Linked DNA regions of Homo sapiens: region 2 is linked to region 1. Evidence: promoter capture Hi-C in human tissues and cell types (Jung and others, 2019). All regions are on one chromosome and are shown on one strand. Each heading gives the region's core, a stretch centred on a gene start or on the middle of the fragment in contact. The rest is flanking DNA. Distances are from core to core; before and after follow the strand shown.

Region 1 (6,690 bases), core at 2,587-5,086:
GTGCTGTGGGCGTGCAGAAGCTGGAAGATCAGGGGAGGCATTGCAAAGGCTGTGGGGTTGAACTGACTTTAAGGAATGGGTCATTCCCTTCAGATCCACATGTGTGCAGGACACCCAGACAGAAAACACAAAATCAAAATGGAGTGGAGGGCATTTGGAAGGAGTGGCGAAAGCAAACAAGGAAAGATGAAGATGGTGGGCAGGTTTGGTGGTAGAAGGACTGCAGAGAGGGTTGAATTAGCCCTGTGGACCCGGGCCTCCGTTTAGAGACAAATCAGCTAAGGAGGTTGTTCAGGTGGGCAGTGAAGGGGGGGTGGGAGCTGTGCTTTGGAAAGCTATTCAGGCAGCACTAGGAAGCCCCCTGGCTTGGGGCAGGACTCGCAGGAATGCCCAGCAGGGAGTATTTGATGATGGATCTGTGTTATGCGAGGACGACCTGAATTTCTGCCTCTGTCATGGGAACCTGGAGAAGGAGGATGGAAAATTGCATTTGGTGTTGATATGGGAAGGAGAGAGACGAGAGAACCAGAAATGGCTGCTTGCTTGGGGAGCAGGGTCGTGTCCACGGCTTTCCTTTCCCCTTAGGACGGGTTTATGTTTCCTTTTGTTTGATTCTACTATTTGTCAACTGCATTTGTGTTTGTTTTTAGAAAGAACAGACTAAGAACACCATAGTATAATCTTATCGTTTTTATATACAGAGTAAAGAGGAGAAGTAGGGTAAAAAAATAGATGGAAGGTTGGAATCCCACTTCGTCCACTGTCCCAGGGTGTTGGATATTGACAGATGGGAAGAAGCAAACTACTCACAGAGCCAGGAAGAAATGAATGCGTTGGTATTGCCACGAGAAGAGGCCGGCACGGCTAAAATACGCTATGACCATAGCCAGGAGATACTGATGGAGAGAAGGGAGTAGAGAGAGAGAAAGGTTGGTCACATCCTGGAAGAGGAAGATGGTGGAGAGAAGGGAACAGGGGCTGGGGCGCGGTTGTCTATCACAGAAGGAACCTCAGTGTTGGGTGACTATGCTCATTGGGGGCTTGCGGGTGGAGAGTGTTCAAAGTCAGCTGCAAATCCGGGAAGTCGGAGGGAGGGAGGTCTGTGATGCTCCCATGATGATGAGCTCCAGTGGGATCACTGGAGGGAGAGTGTCTAGGGCTGCTAATGTCAGGAGGGTCTTGGTGAGCTGGGGCAAAGGACTGTCCCAAAGATCTGAGAGGATAGGGGTCAGGAGTTTCAAGACTGGCCCAGGGCCTGGATTCCAAAGGACCCTGTGCAGAGGCAGGGGCCACCCATCAACTATGCAACAGGCTACCAGAGCCCCGAGGGAGATGCTGACAAATTATGAGAAGACCTAGAATAGCTGGGGGCGGTGACTCACGCCTGGAGTCCCAGCTATTGGAGAGGCCGAGGCGGGAGGATCACTTGAGCCCAGGAGGCTGAGGCTGCAGTGAGCTATGATGGCAACACTGCATTCCAGCCTGGGCAACAGAACGAGACCCTGTTTCTGAAAAAATAAAAATCAAAATGTGGGCGCCCAAGAGTATGGAATCAGCAGGTGGGAGATGGTAGAGGGAGAGAGGAGAGAAACTGTGGGTTTAGACGCTGCACCCTTCCCCAGGACGTGTGTTAAAGCAGGAACACAGTTGAGTGGAGAACAACCTTACCTTGTCTGACACCCTCAGGTCTTTGTCCCAGGCCAGGAATTTTTGAACGACAGGATCCCCTGTGAAAAGAGAGCCTGTGTCAGGGTGAGAAGTGGAACAGGGTTGCCGTGGGAGCAGCAGAGCAGAGAGGAGAACTGTGTCCCTCTGGGGGAAGTCTCAGGATTGTGGCCAAGGCTTAGGTGGATGGGAGAGGAGAGAAGGACTTTCACTGGGCAAGGAGGGAGGCTCCCGCTCTGAGATTCCCCTGAGGAGAGGCCGAAGGAGGCCTCTGGTGTCAGAGTCTACAGGATGAAGAGCTGTGAATAAGCCATGATGTCCTCCCATCAGACAGGAAGGGACCACTGCAGAAGTCATAATAGAATTCCCATCATTGCTTCCTGAGATAGTCACAGCTGGGTGTGCCCATGGCCTTGTTATCCCCCTCCACGGATGGAGACACTTAGGTTTAGAAAAGTCATCAAGAGACATAGAGTTTCAGAGGGTACAGCTGAAACCAAGCTTTCTTTTATCTTTTATTTTATTTTATTTTATTTATTTTATGACAGGGTCTTTCCTTGTCAACCAGGCTGGAGTGCAGTGGTGCAATCATAGCTCATTGCAACTTCAAACTCCTGAGTTCAAGAGATCCTCCCGCCTCAGCCTCCCAAAGCACCAAGATCTCAGGCATGAGCCACTGCACCTGGCCAGAAACCAAGCTTTCTTATTTCAAGTGCAGACCTTTATTAAGACTAGCCTAATCCTCTATCTCCTAAGCATCCTCCTCCTGCATGGAGCGCTCATCCCCCAGGAGGGCATATTCTTCTTATTGGGAAAGTGTGATTATTGAAAGATTCCACTTTTTTAAAAGAACAGGGTTGGAGGTGCTTTTTGGGGTATCCTCCTACCAAGGAGCCTGTTGAAGGCCTCGTGGTGCTCAGGGAGCACGGAGGATGCTCGCTTTCGCTTCAGCTTCATCTTGAGCCCACACAGCGTCTCCACCACCCAGGTGTCCTCGGGCTCAGGGGCGCGCTCCAACTCCAGCTCCTCCTCCAGCTCCTCCTCGGATTCGTCTGACCATTCGCTCTTCCTTTTCAGGCCAAGGGATTGAGGCTGGGGGCTGGGATCTATCCAAGGGGCTGAGTGAAGAAACCAGGCCATGGTGTCATGTTTCTGCCATTGATCACCTTAGACGCCCCGACCCAGGAACCTCAAACTACTCTTCCATCCTCCCAAGCCTCGCAGACTGTCAGCTTCTCCAAGCCATGTTTCCACCTTTCTCCTTTGCTGATCCCCATCTGCCTCTCCCTCACCTCCCCATTCTTCCGGCTCTCTGTCCTCAAAACATTTCCTCATCACAGATAAGAACTTTCAATTGGAGAAAAATGGAAACCTTCCCTTGAGCTCTGTCTGCTCTCTCTCTCTCTCTCTCTTTTTTTTTTTTTTGAGATGGAGTCTCCCTCTTGTTGCCCAGACCGGAGTGCAGTGGCACAATCTTGGTTCACTGCAACCTCCGCCTCCTGGGTTCAAATGATTCTCCTGCCTCAGCCTCTTGAGTAGCTGGGACTACAGGCACGCACCACCATGCCCAACTCACTTTTGTATTTTTGGTAGAGACAGGGTTTCATCGTGTTAACCAGGATGGTCTCGATCTTCTGACCTCGTGATCCGTCCGCCTCGGCCTTCCTCTCTCATCTTTTGAGCACATCTCCTGACCCCCTTCATTGCTCCCCAGACTTTCTTTACACGTGGCCATGCTTGGCCCCATTCCCTGCACCCTCCTTCCCCGATCCCTGGCTTCCTGAGTCCGTCGTTTCTTTCCCACACACCCTACTCAGGTGCTTCAGATTCCCAGTAACTGGCCCCCTTCCCTCTCCTCAGTCAATCATCTCCCATCGCTTCTCCCTCCAGTCACCTCACCTGATGGTCCTGGCACTTCATCATCCACCACCACCTCGGGGGACCGTACCGTTGTGCTAGGCTGGGGGCTCTCCTCCTCAAACGGGGGGCGCGCTTGACCACTGGCCATAATCTCTCCCAAACACTTTGTTTCTGTCCACAAAACCTAGTCCCTGTTCTGTCCAAAGCCTTCTTCCAGACTCCGTTAGGACCCAGAAGAGTGCGTTTCTCTTCTAGAGGCTCGGGAGAAGTTAGGAGTGAAGAGTAGTTCTGAGAAGTTGCTGTTGTCCACCTGAACTCCCAAGCAACCAGAGTCCGGTCCTTCCAATCAGGAAAGTCGGAATCTCTGATGTCATCGGTCATTCCAAACTGGCAACTACTTTGAAGAAAAACACATGTAACTGCCAGACTGATCTCTTTTCTTGGAGATCCGGGGTGAACGGTATCTCCTGGCAATGTCCCAACCTCTGAGCATTGTCCAAAAGCATCCTCAGGGTCTCCACATTCCTCTTTTCCCTGTCCCAGCAGAGGCTGTGTCCTCTCCACTCTAAACTTGAGGGGGTGTTGGGCTCTCCTCCCCGCTTCTCCTTCCCATTTCAGAGTCTAGTCTGGTGAGAGAGGGAGGAAGGTGGAAGGAAATTTAGGGTAAGCAGAATGATGAGTCCTTCCAAGAGTGAGATTAACATATACAGGAGATCCTGGGTAAATTGACTTGTTGAATGGAGACGTTACGTCGAAGTACTCAATGTGGCAAAGCTTTTTTGCTGAATGTTTACTGATATTCACTATCCTGGATCCTATAGTAGGGGAACATGCATCCTTTGCTCTCAGGCATCTTTGAGTCCAAGAGACATTTTGAGGAATGAAAATCACAGGAGACTGTCCATGGTTTCGTACAGATTTTCAATGGTGTCCACAAGTTCAGGGCATCCATGGATCACCTAAAGCCTGCCCTCCAGTTCAGCTAAGGAACTCTGGTCTATATATCAACTATTACAACATATCTATTTCACTTGACCCCAAAATTTGCCTACTATTTATGTATTTTATGAATAAAATATCCTGTGTATAAAAAGACTAAGGGGAAAATCTCAGCCAGGCCCAGGGGCTCCTGCTCATAATCTCCCTCCTTTGGGAGGCCAAGGCAGGGCGTCACTTGAGGTTAGGAGTTCAAGATTAGTCTGGGCAACATAGCAAAACGTCATCTCTACAAAATATAAACAAAGTAATCAGGAATCGTGGCACACACCTGTGGTCCCAGTACTTGGGAGGCTGAGGCAGGAGGATTGCTTCAGCCCAAGTGTTTGAGGCTGCAGTGAGCTATGATTGCACCACTGCACACCAGCCTGGAGGACAGAGTGAGACTCAGTCTCAAAAATATTTTTTTCGGAAAAAATAAAAATGTAAGAGCTGGATACTATCTCAGATACCATCCAAAGAACCTGTGAGTTCTGGCACAGCTTCCTAATGGGCTCCTAGGAGTCTCTCGCTGATGGGAAAGGCACAACTGAATGAGGAGGCAGATCCCGTCGCTGTGGAAGTCCAATTGTTAGGAAACTCTGCTTACATTGAGTGGACCTTCGCATTCACGATGCTTTCAACCATCAGAACTGGTTGGATCCTTTTACAACAAAACAGAAAATCATCTTTCTCTCCTATTTAATAGGCTTTCAAACATTAGAAGATCAATATTCTGTTGCCATTAAAATTTCTCTTCTGTACCACGTAAAGTTCTGATTAATCACTCTTCAAGCCAGTTTTACATATTCCTCTGTCTTCTAGGCACCTTCTGTAGACAGGCTACAATAAGGCAGCCATCTTAAATTATGTCAATACATTGTCCAAAAATGAGCTAAACAGTTCAGGTTTCATCTGATATGTTCAGGGAAAAGCAAAACTATCACTTCTCCCCTTCTCTTTTCCTTCAGTGATGCAGGTTAATACAACAATGGCTGTAGCTATGCACCAAAGATATCATTAGAGTGAAACAGAAGGGCTTTATTGGCTGGCATGGTGGCTCCTGCCTGTCATCCCTACACTTTGGGAGGCCAAGGCTGGAGAATCACTTGAACCCAGGAGTTGGAGATGAGTCTGAGTAACGTTGTGAGACTCCGTCTCTCCAAAAAAATTTAAAATTAGCCTGGTGTGGTGGCACACACCTGTAGTCCCAGCTAGTTCGGAGGCTGAGTTTGGAGGAGAAGAAGTGCTTTGCAAATACCAGCCTTTCAGCCTAAGGATCTCAACTAGGAACATTAAGATACAGATGCCAGGACCCAGCCCCACAGATTCTAATTCCAAAGGACTGAGGTGGGGGCTGATTTAACTTCATCATTGGAGTCCATTCAGATTTGGAACTCTCTGGGTGGGGCAGCGCAATAGAGATCCCAAAGAAAGCAAAATCACTCTCGAATGAAATGAGCAGGAAAGATTTTTTGAGCGAGGTAAGTAAGACCTGGGCCTCACATGGGAGGGCTGTCACCAGGCTTTGTATCCTTGGCTTAGTGGGAACTTTTGAAGCAGCCTCCAAGGCCCCTGTATGCTGGTCGACAAGCCCCCTAACATTGGCTCACAACTGTAATTCCAGCACTTTGGGAGGCCAAGGCAGGAGGATTGCTTGAGCGCAGCAGTGCAAGACCAGCCTGGGCAACTTGGCGAAACCCTGTCTCCACCAAAGTATAAAAAACTAGCCTGGGTGTGGTGGCGCATGCCTGTACTGCCAGCTACTCAGGAGGTTGAAGTGGGAGGATCATTTGAGCCTGGGAGGCGAAGGCTGCAGTGAGGCGAGTTAACGCCACTGCACTCAAGCCTGGGTGACAGAGTGAGACTGCATCTCAATTAAAAGAAGAAACACTAAAAATTTTCACTGAGAATATAAAAGAACTGAATAGAGACTTACAAAATGTCTAAATGATGTTTCAATATGGTAAAACTGTACATTCAATCCAAATGAATTTAGGAATTTAATGCGATTGCAATCAGAATCTCAAAGAGTTTTTCCCCCCGCAGATGTTGACAGAACAATGTAAAAGTTTATCTAGAGAATTGAGTACTTAAGGAACCATCACAAAAGAAGAATGAGAGGGAATGTCCACTGCCAGACACCAAAATGTGTTCTAAGGTGAAAGTGTTAAAACAGCATGTTGCTAG
Region 2 (6,690 bases), core at 3,115-5,614, 170 kb after region 1:
CCTTTATTTTGGTTCATGTCTTGCTCACTCAAGTATTTCGAGTAGTTTCAGGACAGATATGTGGGTGAGGTACTTTCTGAGACTTTACATGTCATATGTCATTCATTCTGGCTCATGAATTATAGCTTTGCCAATTATAGAATTGGCATAATTCATAATTTTTCACCCTCGAAATGTTCATAGAAACCCAAGAAAATCAACTGAAAAATGGTCATACCAAAGAACAGAGTTAGGTAAAGTGGTTAGGCACAAATTAATATAGAAATCAATATTATCTAACTATGCAAATAAATTATGTTGGGGAAACAAGATTCCACTTCTAACAGCAACAAAAGTAATACAAATTTTTTTAAAAACTTTAAAAATATGCAATATTTTTATAAAGAAAATGTTTGAGGGACACGAAAAAGCAAAAGTAAATGGAAATACATATTCTGGTGTTAGGAAGATTCAATACCATAAAAAATTAATTCAAAAAGGATCAAAGATCTAAATGTAAAGTGCTAAAACTATAAAACTCTTAGAAGAAAAATTGGGGGAAGCTTCATCACATTGGATTTGTCAAAGATTTCTTGGATATAACACAAAAAGCACAGGCAACAAAAGAAAAAATAGTTAAATATCAAAATTTAAAACTCTGTGCATTAAAGGATACAATCAACAGAGTGAAAAGGCAAGCCATGTTATGGAAGAAAATATTTGCAAATCGTATATCTGATTAAGGGCTACCATCTTGAATATATAAAGAACTCCTGTATAACTCAACAACAAAAACAAACCACCCGATTTGTTCATTCTCCATGAGTTTCAGCCTGGAGAATAGGAAAGAAGGAGGGAAGGAGGGAAGGTGGGAGGGTGGGAGAGAAGGAGGGAGGGAGGGAGGAAGAAAAGGAGGAAGGTAATTATTGAGTGGCTGATCTGTGTCAGGTACTATGTTGGGCGCTTTCACTTAGTTTGATAATCATAATTGATTATCAAATTGATTATCAAATTATCAATCCCCATTGTCTTGGGAATTAACATTCAGTTAATCCCCAAGACATTGATTACTTAGTTTGATAATCATAATCACCCTGTGACATTATCATAATTATTCACATTTCCTGCAGCTCAGGGAGGGTAAGCCATTTATTCACTCAAGTTCCTATGGTCACAATTCCTATGGCCCGAGCTTGAAGTCTGTGCAAAGTTGGCGTGACTCTCAAAGCCCATGTTCTTTCCTATGTCGTGTTCATAGGAAGTCATTTCTACTGGTTTCTAGACACTTAAAGGGCTGAGTGTACTGTTTCGTCTCAGTGTTGTAATTTGAGGCTTCCAGGGAAGACGTCTTGCATAAAAATTGGCTGAGTTTCCATTGTTGGTGATTCATTCTCCTTGGGTTAGGGCTGTTCACTTCCTCTGTCCTAGCTTATTTTTCAAGATGTAAGATTCTTGGAGGATGATTTAGCCACCAGATGAGTCTGTTACAGCAGTGACGGTAGCTAGTGGGCAGGAGAAGGACTCTGGGGCCAGGAGAGGGAGGAAATGTGAAAAGGTAGGTGGACATGGTGTGGAGGTCCAGGGAAGGCAGAAGATGAAGTAGAGATGTACCAAAAGAAAGAAACACTGAAGAAGCAGAGGCAAGACTGCCCACTTCCCCCCATCTTTGCTCAAGCCCTTCTTTACCAAGGAAGGGGCACAGGAATGCCTGGGAAGACCACAGTTGTGGTCAAGACCAAGAAGAAATGGGATGAGGATGAAGGAGGGGAAGGAGAAAGATGCTAACGTGTACACAGCACTGACCCTGGGCCAGATACCATGCTTAGGGCTTGAAGCACATGATCTCATTTATTTTGAGCCACTCTAGGACACTCTGAACTTGCAGAGATGAGGAAGTTCAGCTCCTGTTGGCTAAAAGACTTTCCCAAGGACATACGGATAGCACAGAGAGGATTCGAACTAAGGTCTCTCTGGTCCACTCTACCCAGGTACAGTACCGAAAAGACAACAGGATGTACAATGTCACCTTTTCATATAATAATTTTAATAATAGCAGCTAATAGGAATTGAAAGCTTACTATGTGGCAGGCACCGTTCTAGGTGTTTCTATGAATTAAGTCATTAAATCCATGTGAGGTAGACACTCCTTACCCCCATTTTACAGATGAGGAGACTGCGGTACAGAGTATTCTCTCAGCTGGTAAATGAAGTATGCTGTAGGCAATTTAGCTTCCCCATGCAAGTAAGAGCAGCTATACTGGAGCCAGGGGTGGGCAAACTGAAATTACTGCCAAGCTGGGAAACCAGAGGAAGACTATAACAATAAAACAAGCAATAAGCTCCAGGCAGCAACCGAATTCTTTGGGCACCTGGGCTAAACCTTGGGCACTTACACGGGAGACTGTTTAATCCTACCACCTTTAAATATGGAGCCCATCTTAATGGTTAGACAATGTGCACAGGAGAATAAAGCAGCAAATGAATGTAAATGTAAAAACTCAAGAAAGGCCAATTACACATATATTGGCAGCTTTCTGGTTTTTCTGGATGTGGAAAAAGATTGCAGTTGTGACATTGCACCCTTCCCTTCCCTTCCCCTCCCCTCCCCTCCCCTCCCCTCCCCTTCCCTTCCCTTTTCAAGACAGGGTCTTGCTCTGCCTCCCAGGCCAGAGCGCAGTGGTGTGATCATACCTCACTGCAGCCTTCTGGGTGTGGAAAAAGATTGCAGTTGTGACATTGCAGCCTTCCCTTCCCTTCCCTCCCCTCCCCTCCCCCCCTCCCCTCCCTTCCCCTTCCCTTCCCTTTCCTTTTCAAGACAGGGTCTTGCTCTGCCTCCCAGGCTGGAGTGCAGTGGTGTGATCATACCTCACTGCAGCCTTGACCTCCTGGGCTCAAGCGATCCTCCTGCCTCAGCCTCTCAAGTAGCTGGAACTACAGGCACATGTCACAATGCCTGGCTAATTTTTTTTTTTTTTTGTAGAGGTGGGGTTTCACCATGTTGCCAGGCTGATCTTGAACTCCTGAGCTCAAGCAATCTGCTGGCTTCAGCCTCCCAAAGTGCTGGGATTACAGGCGTGAGCCACCTGCAGCCTGACACAGGCTGCTCACTTTCTACAGGTAGAATCATTTCTAGTTTGTAAGACAGATATGAATATTTCATAGTTTTGGGCAAGGAAGATTTTTCTCCTTCCAGAGCACTGTGACTTCTAGATGCTTTACTATCAGAATAAGTTTGGGGTAGACTGGTCCAATCCATTATCTTTTCCCTTGCACAGCTTTTCTTCTCTTCCAGAGTGATAAACCATTTACCACCCCGTCTTCTCTCCATTAATCCAACAGCAGGTCATTGTTCTCAGACACGGGCACATCTTCACTAGTCTCCTTTTTACTCTCTTTGAACTCCTGCCCAATTATGCAAGAAAAATCTCTCAAATTCTCCCCCTCCATCCCATTCATGAATATGCTTTAGAGCGAAACCTCTCTAACAAGAAAACAGATACTCATCAGGTTTGTGGACAGAACTGAAATCAGACACTCCTCCCGATACTTGGCCAGGTGTGGTTTTTACAACTTTTTATGAAACAAACGCTGATGTCAAGAGTCCCGTTTAGCCCAGTCTAGAACTCTCTAGATCTCTAATGGACAACTTACTATGACATTAGGGCATCAGGCACTGATGCAGTCTCTCCCAACTTCTCACCAAATATACCAGATAGATAGTTAGATAGTAGATGGATAGATAGATAGATAGTAGATGAATAGATAGATAGATAGTAGATGGATAGATGGATAGATAGATAGTGGATAGATAGAAAGTAGATGGATAGATAGATAGTAGATGGATAGATAGATAGTAGATGAATAGATAGCTAGATAGTAGATGGATAGATGGGTAGATAGATAGACAGAAAGTAGATGGATAGATAGATAGATAGTAGATGGATAGATAGATAGTAGATGGGTAGATAGATAGATGGTTAGCTAGTAGATGATAGATAGTAGATGGATAGATAGATAGATAGTAGATGGATAGATAGTAGATGGATAGACAGTAGATTGATAGATAGATGGATTGATAGATAGTAGATGGATAGATAGATAGATAGTAGATGGAGAGATAGTAGATGGATAGGTAGATAGTAGATGGAGAGATAGATAGTAGATGGATAGATAGTAGATGGATGATAGATAGATAGTAGATGGATAGATAGTAGATGGATAGATAGTAGATGGATAGATAGATAGATAGTAGATAGATAGTAGATGGATAGATAGATAGATAGAGAAAAAAGGAACACACATGCATACAATCCAAACTGAAACCAACACTGACAAGCCAGAATGAGGGATTGACATTATGTCTAAATCAGATGGAAATGGATTAAGAAAATCCAGGCTTAGGTTCAGGCCAAAATCTCTATAATAAGTGGGTACAGCTTGCATCATGGCTGAGTACATTTTGGTCCCCAAGTGGGTGTGCACTTTTTCCTTGGATGCTTCATCCCCTTTTGTCTTTTCCTTTAATGCAGATAGATGCATCACATTCACTGAGATGGAGAAGTTTGGGGAGAGGACAATTTGGGAGAGGAAAACAAGAGTCCTGCTTTGTCCGAGTTCTATCCCCTTCAGACCCCAATGGAGAGGTCTGGGCTACAGCTCTCTATTTGGGAGTTCACATGGTGCTGTGGTCACTGAGGCTGTGAACCATGTGAAGCGAGAAGAGTGAGGAGAACACCTCCAGTGTTAAGAGGTGGCACCGGAAGTATCACAAAAAGACACTGAGAAGATGCAGCTCATGAGCAGGAGGAGAACACGATGTGACAGGATCCAAAACAAGCATGTTTCAAGGAGGGAGTGAGGAATGCCACTGCAAGGTCTACAGCATGAGGGCAGAGAAGTGGCCACTGGATCTGGTGACATGGAGGGTTTGAGTGACCATGAAAGAACAAGTGCAGGAAGAAAAGACCAAATGGAATGGGCTAAGGAGAGAGAAGTGACAGAGAGGCAACTGCTTTGGGAAGCTTTGCTCAGAAGAGCTGGGTTTATGAAATGCCCCAGGATCCAAAAGAACCCTAAGGTTCTTCCAGTTTGAAAAAAAATGTCTATATCGATGTCAAAAGAAAAACTACCCGTATTAGTCCATTTTCATGCTGCTGATAAAGACATACCTGAGACTGGGAAGAAAAATAGGTTTAATTGGACTTACAGTTCCACACGGCTAGGGAGGCCTCAGAATCATAGCAGGAGGCAAAAGGCACGTCTTACATGGCAGCAGCCAGAGAAAAATGAGGAAGATGCAAAAGTAAAACCCCTGATAGAACCATCAAATCACGTGAGACTTATTCACTACCACAAGAACAGTATGGGGGAAACTGCCCCCATGATTCAGATTATCTCCCACCAGGTCCCTCCCACAACACATGGGAATTATGGGAGTACAATTGGAGATGAGATTTGGGTGGGGACACGGAGCCAAACCATGTCACTACCCAACATGGTTACACGTCCAAATGCTAACAGAAATTATATCTGGGAGGTAAAAATAGGAATAATTTTTATTTTTTATTAAACATTTTTCATAATATATATTTTATGCCTTGTTTTTTATCACATAGATAACAGAGGTTATATATATATAAATTAAAAAATGGTGCTGGGTAAGTGGAGTAGATATGCTTTTCCCTATTCCATTTGAAATACAACTACAAGCCCTGAACAATATATATAAAACTAACATAAGAGACCCTGAAAGAGAGAGAGAAGGCACACAGGCTAGGGACCCTGGGGACAAGGAATGGCATGGGTGAGTTCCCTGGCTTCTCTTTTTGCCTTATAGATTCCAGACTTGGAGCTGAACAGCCAGCAATCTGAAAAAATGGGTGCAGATTTAAAATAAAGCCCTCACAAAAGCCTGCTCTCTCTAGCCAAAGCCTGAGGAAAGAGGCAACTTAGCAAGACAGACACTTTTAGACAATACCTGCTCTATTCCAGCCAAACTCCACAGGGAAAATTGTGGTGCCACCTCCACCAGCAAAAGCCAGTTAATCGGCTTAGACTTCCACCCTGGCCAGGCCGTAATGAGGTTCCCCAAATCCCCTGCCATGGCCACTGTCTGAAGAAGCCAAGTAGATAGCCAGGTCTTTTATCTCCATTAGCGGTAATTAGCCCCCTCCCACTCCACAGTGTTAGTGGACACCAGTGAGGAGCCTGGACTTCCACCCCCACCAGACAGTAAAGAGACACCTCCATGATAAGATGATGTCAGAGGAAGCCTAGCAGGGAGTCAAGACTTTTACCACTGCCCAGAAGTAATGAGGTCATCCCCTCTGCTGTGGTGGCATTGTAGCTGTAAGGAGGCACTCCTACCGTTTCTAGCCAGAGACGTATCAGTGGAGGCCTGTTAGAACTTAGATATGTTTTTTTTTGGTCCCACCAAGTCTCATGTTGAAATCTGATCTCCAGTGTTGGAGGTGGTGCCTGGTGAGAGGTCTTTGGATGGTTGGAGCCAATCTCTCTGAATGGCTTGGTGTCATTCTCATGGGAGTGAGTGAGTACTCACTCTTCATTCCTGAGAACTGGTTGGGAACCAGCTTAGTTCCCCTGAGAGCCTGGCACCTTCCCCCTGCACCCAGTTTCCCACCATGTGATTTCTTCACACCAGCTCCTTTTAACCTTCCACCATGACTGCATGTGGCTTGAGGCTCTCACCAG

The links. The method cuts DNA at HindIII sites, captures the fragments that hold promoters and counts their contacts. A contact is called where the count stands out against the background at its distance.
Region 2: a fragment that was not itself captured here is called in contact with the fragment with the promoter of SPDYE4 in region 1 in 2 of the 25 tissues and cell types used here (lymphoblastoid cells and small bowel).

What each region holds. Positions count from the first base shown.
Region 1 is chr17:8,754,710-8,761,399 of GRCh38, forward strand. It overlaps SPDYE4 (speedy/RINGO cell cycle regulator family member E4), which reads right to left and starts at 3,837. Exons shown (of 7, transcript NM_001394956.1): 1 at 3,565-3,837; 2 at 2,553-2,783; 3 at 1,669-1,727; 4 at 811-896. The coding sequence starts at 3,673. The HindIII fragment of the contact is 5,925 bases long and covers 422-6,346 here.
Region 2 is chr17:8,921,306-8,927,995 of GRCh38, forward strand. The region is part of intron 1 of PIK3R5 (phosphoinositide-3-kinase regulatory subunit 5); the gene reads right to left. Among named protein-coding and RNA genes, the nearest start is that of PIK3R5, 41 kb to the right of the region's middle. The HindIII fragment of the contact is 6,135 bases long and covers 1,298-6,690 here.